Regions from separate parts of the Homo sapiens genome. Here all the other regions are linked to region 3. Evidence: promoter capture Hi-C in 16 types of primary human blood cells and fetal thymus (Javierre and others, 2016). All regions are on one chromosome and are shown on one strand. The core of a region is centred on a gene start or on the middle of the fragment in contact, and the rest is flanking DNA. Distances in the headings are between cores, read along the strand shown.

The links. The method cuts DNA at HindIII sites, captures the fragments that hold promoters and counts their contacts. A CHiCAGO score of 5 or more calls a contact.
Region 1: a contact is called between a fragment that was not itself captured here and the fragment with the promoter of DDX6 in region 3, in 1 of 17 cell types (naive CD4 T cells). The highest score is 5.5, in naive CD4 T cells.
Region 2: a fragment that was not itself captured here is called in contact with the fragment with the promoter of DDX6 in region 3 in 12 of 17 cell types (non-activated CD4 T cells, naive B cells, naive CD4 T cells and 9 more); the score reaches 16.9 in non-activated CD4 T cells.
Region 4: the fragment with the promoter of SLC37A4 here is called in contact with the fragment with the promoter of DDX6 in region 3 in 2 of 17 cell types (naive B cells and neutrophils); the score reaches 5.5 in naive B cells.

What each region holds. Positions count from the first base shown.
Region 1 is chr11:118,577,250-118,579,949 of GRCh38, reverse strand. All of the region lies in intron 1 of ARCN1 (archain 1 coat protein complex I subunit delta), which reads right to left. Among named protein-coding and RNA genes, the nearest start is that of ARCN1, 6.2 kb to the right of the region's middle. The HindIII fragment of the contact is 1,645 bases long and covers 604-2,248 here.
Region 2 is chr11:118,950,115-118,952,814 of GRCh38, reverse strand. No RefSeq gene overlaps it. Among named protein-coding and RNA genes, the nearest start is that of UPK2, 4.8 kb to the left of the region's middle. The HindIII fragment of the contact is 6,551 bases long and covers 1-2,700 here.
Region 3 is chr11:118,789,880-118,792,579 of GRCh38, reverse strand. DDX6 (DEAD-box helicase 6) reads left to right here and starts at 1,416. Exons shown (of 14, transcript NM_004397.6): 1 at 1,416-1,482. RefSeq lists enhancers at 29-584, 1,201-1,310, 2,621-2,700, 2,259-2,700 and silencers at 641-930, 1,381-1,710, 2,341-2,420. The HindIII fragment of the contact is 4,863 bases long and covers 1,233-2,700 here.
Region 4 is chr11:119,029,627-119,032,326 of GRCh38, reverse strand. SLC37A4 (solute carrier family 37 member 4) reads left to right here and starts at 1,450. Exons shown (of 10, transcript NM_001467.6): 1 at 1,450-1,478. RefSeq lists a silencer at 1,836-1,995. The HindIII fragment of the contact is 18,338 bases long and covers 1-2,700 here.

The DNA.
Region 1 (2,700 bases), core at 177-2,676, 210 kb after region 3:
TTGGGATAAAATTTCCCAAACTGCCAATATATCACACATGGATTCAAAACTGCTAAATACCAAACTGATGATTCAAAAAGTGGCCCCAGTGATGACATGATGTTCATAAAGAATCTAGAAAAAATTGTTTTATTAATATGAAAATGGAAAAAAGTAATTATTTCTAAATTAAACTTTATTTATTTAAAACATATACATATAAGTGAATTATTAACTATTTTAAGAACATATTTGACTATTTTTGCTACCTTTTTTTTTTTTAAGATGGAGTTTTGCTCTTGTTGCCCAGGCTGGAGTGCAATGGCAAGATCTCCGCTCACTGAAACCTCCACCTCCCAGGTTCAAGTGATTCTCCTGTCTCAGCCTCCCGAGTAGCTGGGATTACAGGCGCCTGCCACCACGCCCGGCTAATTTTTTTTTTTTTTTTTGTATTTCTAGTAGAGATGGGGTTTCACCATGTTGGTTGGCCAGGCTGGTCTCAAATGCCTGACCTCGGGTGATCTGCCCACCTCGGCCTCCCAAAGTGCTGAGATTACAGGCATGAGCCACCGCCCGGCCTATTTTGGCTGCATTTTAAAAAGTTTATACAATTGGCAAAAAGCTTTCCTTCTTAATAGTTTCATCAGAAAAGTAGGGAATTCCCTTATATTTGGGATCATTTCACATTGGTTTCTCCTTTTCCTAAAGACTTAGAACTAGTGTCCCAAATTTGCAAAGAACCAAGCTGATATTAGAAAAACTAAATGACTGGGAGTGAGAAAATCTATTTTCTAGTTTTGTTCTTCTATTTACTATCTGCCTGACCTTCAGTTACCCAACCTCTCTTAACCTCGTTTCTTTTCCTATAAAATGCAGCATTATCTAATGACCTTACAAGCTATTATGAGGGCCAAATGACTATAATGAAACTGTACTTCAGAAGTGCTATACAACTTGTAGCACATATATTCATGATGTAAAACAGCACCATTAGTAATAATAAACATGCATCTCATGAAAAAAATTTATGCCACTTCAAGGTAATGGATTTTTCTTTTTTTATTAAAAAAAAAAAAAAAAAAAAAAAAAAAAAAAAGAGAGACGGGGTTTTGCCATGTTGCCCAGGCTACAAATTCCTGGGCTAAAGTGATCCGCACACCTCAGCCTCCCAAAGTGCTGGGATTACAAGTGTGAGCCACAGCATCCGGCCAAGGCAATGGATTTTTGCCTTTGTCAATATTTTGATATTCAAATAATGAATATTGACTCTCCCCCCAAAATTTTACATACAGTTTCAGGGAATGCATCGATCCTCTAGAGAAGTTATTTCAAATGGCCCATAGAAAATCCCCTCATGCGATGAGAAATATTATTAATAAATGGGAGCATATTGTAAATGTAATCCCTGTAGAGCCTCCTATCCCTAAAAGGTTGAGAGTCATAGCTCTAGGAAGTCATGGTCCTCTATGTTAGAATTTTATGAGGTTTTGAAGAAATAAGACAAATCAAATGAACACCTAAAGAAAGGACAGCTCAGACCAAAACTTCAGACCTATATAAACATGCTGCATTTAATAGAAACCCCATATCTAATAATAAACCTGTTAGAAACAATGTTTACAGGCTCAAGGGTAGTTCTTAGGTTTCCAACTGGAGTTAAAAACACCTCTATACCATACAAGTAAAATTTAGGTAAAAACATCAAAAGCAACTTGAGAGGGAAAAAGGAACAAAAAGGTGTATGTTACTATCCACTTTATTTATTTATTTATTTATTTATTTATTTATTTATTTATTTATTTATTTTTTGAGAGAGTGTCTCACTCTGTAGTCCAGGCTGGAGTGCAGTGGTGCCATCTTGGCTCACTGCAAGCTCTGCCTCCTGAGTTCAAGCAATTCTCATGCCTCAGCCTCCTGAGTAACTGGGACTACAGGCACAGGCCAGCACCACCAAGCCTGGCTAATTTTTCTATTTTTAATAGAGACAGGGTTTTGCCATGTTGGGCAGGCTGGTCTCCAACTCCTGGCCTCAAGTCATCTGCGCGCCTTGGCCTCCAAAGTGTTGGGATTACAGGAGTGAGCCACTGCACCTGGCCCATCCACTTTACTGATGAGCATGTTCAAAAACTAATTATAGGTACTGGTAATCTCCATTTTTGCGATATTATAAGAATTAACTGAGTAATTATTTATCGAACATCTACTATACATACAACATGCTTTCTGAGAATTAAGATGACACAGGCTAGCATTCTGCCTACAAGAAGCTTAATAGGGATAAGACACAAACACAAATAACTGTAATATGAGGCAGAATGTGTTAAGTAACATGAGAGAGTAACCGATAAAGTGCGTGGAAATTCAGAGGAAGAGATTACTTCCAGCTGGTACAGTCAGGGATGACTTGATAGAAGAAACAGCATTTAGGCCGGGAGCGGTGGCTCATGCCTTAATCCAGCACTTTGGGAGCCAGGGCAGGCAGATCACCTGAGGTCAGGAGTTCGAGACCAGCCTGGTCAACATGGGAAAACCCTGTCTCTACCAAAAAATACAAAAAATTAGCCAAGTCTGGTGGTGCACGTCTGTAGTCCCAGCTACGGGGAGAGTGAGGTGGGAGGATTGCTTGAACCTGGGAGGCGGAAGTTGCAGTAAGCCAAGATCATACCACTTCACTCCAGCCTGGGCTACAAAGTGAGACTCTGCCTCAAAAAAAAAAAAGAA
Region 2 (2,700 bases), core at 64-2,563, 160 kb before region 3:
TGATGGCAGCTACTGTCCTCTTGTTGATGAGATACCATGTAACTTTAGGTGGACTTCAATGTTCTCACATTTAAAATGGAAGACTTGGCCAGGTGCGGTGGCTCACGCCTGTAATCCCAGCAGTTTGGGAGGCCGAGGCGGGTGGATTACCTGAGGTCAGGAGTTTGAGACCAGCCTGGCCAACATGGTGAAACCCTGTCTCTACTAAAAATACAAAAATCAGCCGGGTGTGGTGATGCATGCCTGTAATCCCAGCTACTTGGGAGGCTGAGGCAGGAGAATCGCTTGAATCCAGGAGGTGGAACTTGCAGTGAGCTGAAATCATGCCACTGCACTCCAGCCTAGGCAACAGAGTGAGACTCCATCTCAATAAAATGAAATAAAAAATGGCAGACTCACCAGGCACAGTGACACATGCCTGTCATCTCAGCACTTTGGGAGGCTGAAGTAGGAGGATCACTTGGGACCTGGAGTTTGAGACCAGCCTTGTGACGCAGCAAGGCTCCATCTCTACAAAACTGAAAAAAAAATTATGGCCAGGCGCTGTGGCTCACAGCCTGTAATCCCAGCACTTTGGGAAGCCAAGGTGGGAAGATTGCTTGAGCCCAGGAGTTCAAGACCAGCCTGGGTGATATAGTGACATCTCTTCTCTATTAAAAAAAAAAAAAAAAAAGCCTGGGCACGGTGGCTCACGCCTGTAATCCCAGCACTTTGGGAGGCTGAGGCGGGCAGATTATAAAGTCAGGAGTTCGAGACCAGTCTGGCCAACATAGCGAAACCCCGTCTCTACTAAAAATACAAAAAATTAGCAGGTATGGTGGTGTGCGCCTGTAATCCCAGCTACTTGGGAGGCTGAGGCAGGGGAATTGTGTGAACCCGGGAGGCGGAGGTTGCAGTGAGCCGAGGTCCCACCATTGCACTTCAGCCTGGGTGACAGTGCGAGACCCCGTCTCAAAAACAAAAACAAAACAGGCCAGGGTGGTGGCTCACACCTGTAATCCTAGCACTTTTGGAGGCTGTGTTGGGTGGATCACCTGAGGTCAGGAGTTCAAGACCAGCCTGACCAACATGGTGAAATCCCCTCTTTACTAAATACAAAAAAGAATCACTTGAACCCGGGAGATGGAGGTTGCAGTGAACTGAGATCATGCCATTACACTCCAGCACGGGCAGCAAGAGCGAAACTCCATCTCAAAAAACAAACAAACAACAACAACAAAAAAACAATGAGCTGGGCATGGTGGCACATGCCTCCAGTCCCAGCTACTTGGGAGGCTATGGCGGGAGGATGGCTTGAGCCCAGGAGTCTGAGGCTTTGGTGAGCCATGATTGCACCACTGCACTCCAGCCTGGGTGACAGAGCTGGAAATAAAGTATATAAAGAGAAGACCCCTTCCTTACTCAGGAGGTCAAACTATGTGACAGGTGTAAAAATGGTTTAAAATAAAGGTGTGGAAGAAATGCTGGAGATCATTGTCATAATCCTAGGAACAGCCAGGGATGGGGGAGTCCTGGAGGATTGGATTTGGAGGTAAGATGCGGTGCTCACCAAATGTTGGTCCATTGGGAAGTGGTGGCACCTCTATCCTTGAGACCTGAGGCTGGAAAATGCTGTGAGGATGAGAAAATACCAGTCATTCAGGGTTGGAGGAGACTTGAATGCTCCATTTTAAAAAATGTAGCCGCCCTGCGTGGTGGCTCACGCCTGTAACCCCAACACTCTGGGAGACCGAGGAGGGTGGATCACCTGAGATCGGGAGTTCGAGACCAGCCTGACCAACATGGAGAAACCCTGTCTCTACTAAAAATACAAAATTAGCCAGGCGTGGTGGCACATGCCTGTAATCCCAGCTACTTGGAAGGCTGAAGCAGGAGAATCGCTTGAACCCGGGAGGTGGAGATTGCGCCATTGCACTCCAGTCTGGGCAACAAGAGTGAAACTGTCTCAAAAAAAAAAAAAAAAAAAAAGTAGCCTCTGATACAACCACTTACCCCAAATCTTCTTCCAGCTTTGTGACTTTTGCCAAGTTACATACCTCACTAACTGCTCTGAGCTTCAGCTTCCTCTGCTGTAAAAAGGGTATAAAACCAGGCCAGGCATGGTGGCTCATGCCTGTAACCCCAGCACTTTGGGAGGCTGAGGTGGGCAGATCACGAGGTCAGGAGTTCGAGATCAGCCTGGCCAACATGGTGAAATGCCGTCTCTACTAAAAATACAAAAAATTAGCTGGGCATGGTGGCAGGTGCCTGTAATCCCAGCTACTCGGGAGGCTGAGGCAGGAGAATTGCTTGAACCTGGGAGGCAGTAGTTGCAGTGAGCCGAGACCACGCCACTGCACTCCAGCCTGGGCAACAGAGCCAGACTCCGTCTCAAAAAAAAAAAAAAAAAAAATTAAAGGGTATAAAACCTGTCTCACAACCATCTGATCTTTGACAAACCTGACAAAAACAAGAAATGGGGAAAGGATTCCCTATTTGATAAATGGTGCTGGGAAAACTGGCTAGCCATATGTAGAAAGCGGAAACTGGATCCCTTCCTTACACCTTATACAAAAATTAATTCAAGATGGATTAAAGACATAAATGTTAGATCTAAAACTATAAAAACCCTAGAAGAAAACCTAGACAATACCATTCAGGACATAGGCATGGGCAAGGACTTCATGACTAAAACATCAAAAGCAATGGCAACAAAAGCCA
Region 3 (2,700 bases), core at 167-2,666:
AGAGTCACCCTTTGCCTTAAGCTTCTCCATTTCCTTACTGAATTCCTATTTCTATTATAACTGACGCTTCACTAGCTTCCCTCCCTTTAGTGGAGGGCCCGGCCTCCTCCGCCCCTACTTTCTTCAGTCTTGCCCTTCGAGGGCAGGAGAAGACGGTTGCGCCCTACTAACTCTTCACCTTACAGTCCAGCTTCTCCCCCCACCACCCCGGTGCGCTCTCTCGGTTTGCTACCCTCTCCACCAGGCCTCCCCACTCCACCTGCGCAACGCCCCCAGCTCCGTGCTCTCCGGAGTAATCCCCCCTCAGTCGCACTCTCACAGCCCGGCCCCTGCCCCCGCCTCACCCCCAGTTGTGCCTTCACCTCCCGGTTCCTCCTAGACAGGTCCCCCAAGATACGCCCTCACAGTCCGGTCCCCCGCCGTCCTCTCCCGGCGCACGCTCAAGTCCGGTGCCTTCCCCCCGCAGACCCCCGAGGCGCACCCTCAAGCTCGGTGCCTCTGCGCCCCCCGCAGGGGCGCCCTCAAGCCTGGTACCCTTCACATGAGAGCCCCCCGGGCGCACCCTCAAGCTCGGTGTACCCCCCCATACCACCCGCAGGCGCGCCCTCATGCCCGAAGACTTCCCCCGCCCAGGTGCACCCTCAAGCCCGGTGCCTTCCCCCACAACCAGCGCCCCCAGGCGCACCCTCAAGCCCGGAGCCTACCCGCCGCCAGGCGCGCCCTACAGGCTCGCCCCGTCCCACCGCGCAGCGCCCCCCGCGCACTCTCTGGAGTCCTCCCTCCTGCCTGGTGCGGCCTCCGGGCCCGGTCGGCCCCCCTTCCTGCCCCCACACTCAGACGCGCGCCCGGCGTCTCCGGGTCGCTAGTTCCGCGCCTTCCTGCATGGAGGCGCGCCCCGAGAGGCTCGGACGCGGCCCCTTAGGCCCGGCATCAGCCTCCCCGGCCAGCTGGAGAAGTCAGGTCAGCTTCCTGTCCCCGAGCAGCTGCCCGGGGGCCAGTTTTCAAAACATATCCTTAGTCATGTAATAAAGAGATGTTCCTCTGGTCTCAACTCCCGATTTTTACTTTGGAGGGGCGAAGGCAGGCCTACCCTTGCCAGCCACCATTTCTCAATCACGTCGCGGCTGTGGAAAAGCAGCCGTCCTGTCCCTTCAGAAAGGAACTCGTATTTCCCCCTCGAACTTTTCTCGTCGGTGTGAGAGAAGGGCCCTCCATTTTCTCCTCAGGAAGCTTTCGCGGCCCGACTTCCTCTCACCACCAGGCCAGGAAGGCAGTGACGCCGCGGCGAATATAGCCGCGGCGGCCGAGGTTTCGCCATCTTGAGTGGAGGAGGAGCCGCGGTCGCCGCCATGCGGAGAGGCAGGGAAAGAGGGAGGAGGCGGCGGGCGGGCGAACGGGCGAGCGAGGGAGGGGGCAGAGGAGCCGAGTTAGCTCAGCCAGGCGGCGACTTCGGCGGCGCCACGAGAGCGGGCAGCGGAGGAGGTAGGGCTGGACAGCCGGGGGAGCCGGCGGCTCGGGCGGCTGGCCTGCGCGCCCCTCGGAGCGGGGCGGGGGCGGGGGCGAGAGGAGGCCGTAGCGAGAGGGCTGGGTGGGGGCGGGCGGAGGTTTCCGAGGAGGAAGGAGCGTCCGCCATTTTGGGAGCTTCGAGTCAACAATAAAGGACCGAGGGTGCCGAGCGGGAGTGGCCTCGTTGGTAGGACACGGGCCCGAGTCGCGAGGCTTGGGGTGAGGTGGTGGGGTCGAGGTCAGCGGTGCTTTGGGGGCTGTGGGGAGCCCCCCGGGCCGGCTCTGGGGGACTCTCGGGCGGAGGCCTAAGGCCTGGCCGGGCCTGGGGAGGAAGGCGGTCGGCAGCTGTGTGGGGTGGGAGCGCCTGAGAGGAGGCGAATATAGGAATGTGGTGCGCAGCAGGGTCGGCAGGAGGAACAGGCTAAGTACTCGGAGTAGCTTTATCGAAGATGAGGGAATATGAGGCCGAAGGGGGCGGCAAGGACTTAGGGGGATGATGGTGGAGGTTATAGGGTACGAGGCGGCCCTATAGGGGGCGGCAGGGACATGCTGTATTGGAGGGCTCGGTTTAGAAGCAAACCGGCCGCTGCTTGATTGCAGTAGGCCTTGCGGGTCAATAACAAGAGGGTATTTATGGAGCCCCCGACTCTTGGAGGAAAGGAGGGGGATTTCTGGTTTAGGGGGTCCATTTGGGGCCTCCTTGGGGGAGTCCCTATTGTTTGCTACTAATGGAGCGGTTGCTGGCTCATATTGCGCAGATAAGATTGCAGAGCCCCAACCTTTTGTGTTTATGGTCAGAAGTGTGTGTGTTTGGGGCGTGGGGCGGGGTGCGGGGGGACAAGAAATTTCCTTTCAGTTACGGGGTTCCAGTCATTAGTCAATGACTCTTTCCCGTATCTCTCTCCTTTCTCTTCCTCAGCCCCCATTTCCCTTCAGAATAAAACCCAGTCACTCCAACTTGCAGGCAAAGCTAGAAAAACTGCGCTGCATTTGCAAACAAAAGCTCTTGTTGGCGATGACGATACTGTTTTGGGTGTGAAACTGTCAATTGCTAACTACGATCTGTGAAGTGCTGTAATTAACTCCGCTAGGGGCTCCTCCCAACTAGTCTACGTTTCTTGTTGTTTGTTTTTTGTTTTTTTGTTTTTTGTTTTTGAAAATGTAGAAAACTTGCAAATCTAAATTGGGAAGGGG
Region 4 (2,700 bases), core at 201-2,700, 240 kb before region 3:
CTGGCTAATTTTGGTATTTTTAGTAGAGACAGGGTTTCACCATGTTGGCCAGGCTGGTCTCGAACTCCTGACTTCAAGTGATCTGCCCGCCTTGGCCTCCCAATGTGCTGGGATTACAAGCATGAGCCATCGCGTCCGGCCTGTCATCCTATTTTATCTCATCTCCTCCTCCTCCCTTCCCTGACCATCTTCTCTGGAGTAAAAGATCTTTGCTCTCAATTTTGGAACACTTACAATTCCTTCAGCCACTCTTGTTAGGAAGATATAAGGGAAGAGAGCGAGAGACAGGAGGCAACTCAACGGCCAAACAGGTTTATTCACAGGAATAAGCCTGCAAGGAGTTCCAGTCAGGAGTCTGGCTGAGACCCTGATCGCTTACAAGCTGAGGCTTTTATAATATCGTTTCTATTGGGGAGAGGTCGGGAAGTGCTGGCTGATTGGGACTGTTGGGGACTTTGTTAGGCTATGTTACCTTCTGTTGAAGCTATGGGCAGGGTTAACATTTGCTCTGTTTCTGAGAACACAGTCATCATTGTTGTAAAATAGCATCACTACTGTTACTCCTCACAACTCTTAACTGGGATCAGTGAAAACCATTGTTGTTGAGAACTCTTATAGAATTTCTGAGCTCTTATCTAAATCATCTGTTGAGTCTTCACAATGATCTACCAGGCTGGTAGGAAACGGGAGCTCATAGAGATTAACCAAGGTCATACAGTTAGAATGCTGTGGGTCTAGGACTAGAATTTGATATTTACTCCAGGCCCCGTCTCTGTCCCCAACAATCTAACCACAAGTTAAAATTCCAAATTGTGGGCTGGGCGCGGTGGCTCACGCCTGTAATCCCAGCACTTTGGGAGGCCGAGGTGAGCGGATCACGAGGTCAGGAGATCGAGACCATCCTGGCAAACACGGTGAAACCCCGTCTCTACTAAAAATACAAAAAATTACCCGGGCGTGGTGGTGGGCGCCCGTAGTCCCAGCTACTCGGGAGGCTGAGGCAGGAGAATGGTGTGAACCCGGGAGGAGGAGCTTGCAGTGAGCCGAAATCGCGCCACTGCACTCCAGCCTGGGCGACTGAGCGAGACTGTTTCAAAAAAAAAAAAAAAGAAAAAAAGAAAATACTGTGTGTTCCTACAACACCTTTCCCAGACTGTGAGCAACTTGGGAACAATGATTATCACCTTAGTGTTCGGTGTGTTTTGTAGAGGAGGGCACTCACTAAAAACTGGTTTGTTGAATGCAACCACTTAAGAATTGGACATGCCGTGCCCAGCCCCTAAGGGGCGCTATGCTCGTTCGTCCAAGGAGCAGCGTGACCAGCGGGAGGGAGTAAGTCGACGTCCCCGGCATGTGGGGCGGGGAACTCCACTGGCCGGCAAGCGAAGCAGCAGGCGAAGACCACGCCCCCGCCGGCCGCGCTTGCGCAGCCTTCGCTAGCCCCGCCCCGTCCTATTCGGGCTCCCGCCTCTGTTCAGGTAGGAGGCGGTATGCGGGGGAGGGGAGTCACCTGAGGGCGGGGATCTCAGGTCTTGGGGAGCCATTGTTGGCGAACCCCAACTTCCGATACGACCCGGAGCTGTTCCTGCAGTTCCAGAGACAATTCATGGGTCTTGGGGCCACCGAGGCGCTGTCCCTGACCACCAGCACGAGACCCCTTTCTATCGCGCCAGTCCTGTGGTCTCCGCACCTCTCCAGCTCCTGCACCCCCGGCCCCCGTGGTTCCCAGCCGCACAGTAGCGTGTCCTGGGTAGCGTGAGGACCCACGGGGCTGGGCAGGTGCCACGAGCCCGCCGCCTCTTCGCCGCCCGCCGCCTCTCCTCCTCTCCCGCCCGCCGCCTGGCCCTCCCCTACCAGGCTGAGCCTCTGGGTGCCAGAAGCGCGGGGCCTCCGGGAGAATACGTGCGGTCGCCCGCTCCGCGTGCGCCTACGCCTTCTGCTCCAGTTGCTTTCCCAATTGAGCGGAAAAGCCGGGGCATGTTGCCGGGGCCCTGGGCGGGACGGTTGTGCCCTGCAGCCCGAAGCCCGCCGGGGCACCTTCCCGCCCACGAGCTGCCCAGTCCCTCTGCTTGCGGCCCCTGCCAACGTCCCACAGGTTGGAAACCAGACCCTGCAGCCCCCAGCTAGCCCGAAGGAAGCCCAGACTGACGTCGCAGGGTAATGGGGACCCAGAGGTAGCTCTGTGGGGCCCCATCAGGACCTCAGCCCTTAGCGGGGCTTTCTGTGTGACACCGTGGGACCTGAACTGGGGAGGTCCCCCTTGCACAGAATTACAAGGGGCAACTGTAGGAAACAATTAAATCTATTATGTGCTAAGTATTGAGAGTTCCACGGATTGAGGCCCTCTCTAGAAGGCTTAGAAGTGGGGTAGCCGGGGTATGTGTCTGACTTTGTGTTTTGGTGCGGTGGTGGTGAGTGGGTGTAGAAACTAATAGTGCCAAGTGCAGTGCCTGTCAACTAGTAAGTTAATAAACCTTCCGTGAATGAATGAGAAGGTTCTGTGACTGAGGGAGCAGGGCTAGAGAGGGCATCTCTGCTCATCCCACCCCTGCCTCCCCTGGGCTCAGGCAGACAAAAGTAATTAGGTTGAACCTTTAATCAAAGCTGGTTTCACAGGCAAGCAGACATGATAGAGGAGGTAAAGGCAGAAATCCTGGGGACACAGGGTGCTGGCCTGGCTCACAGGCATGCCTCCTTCCG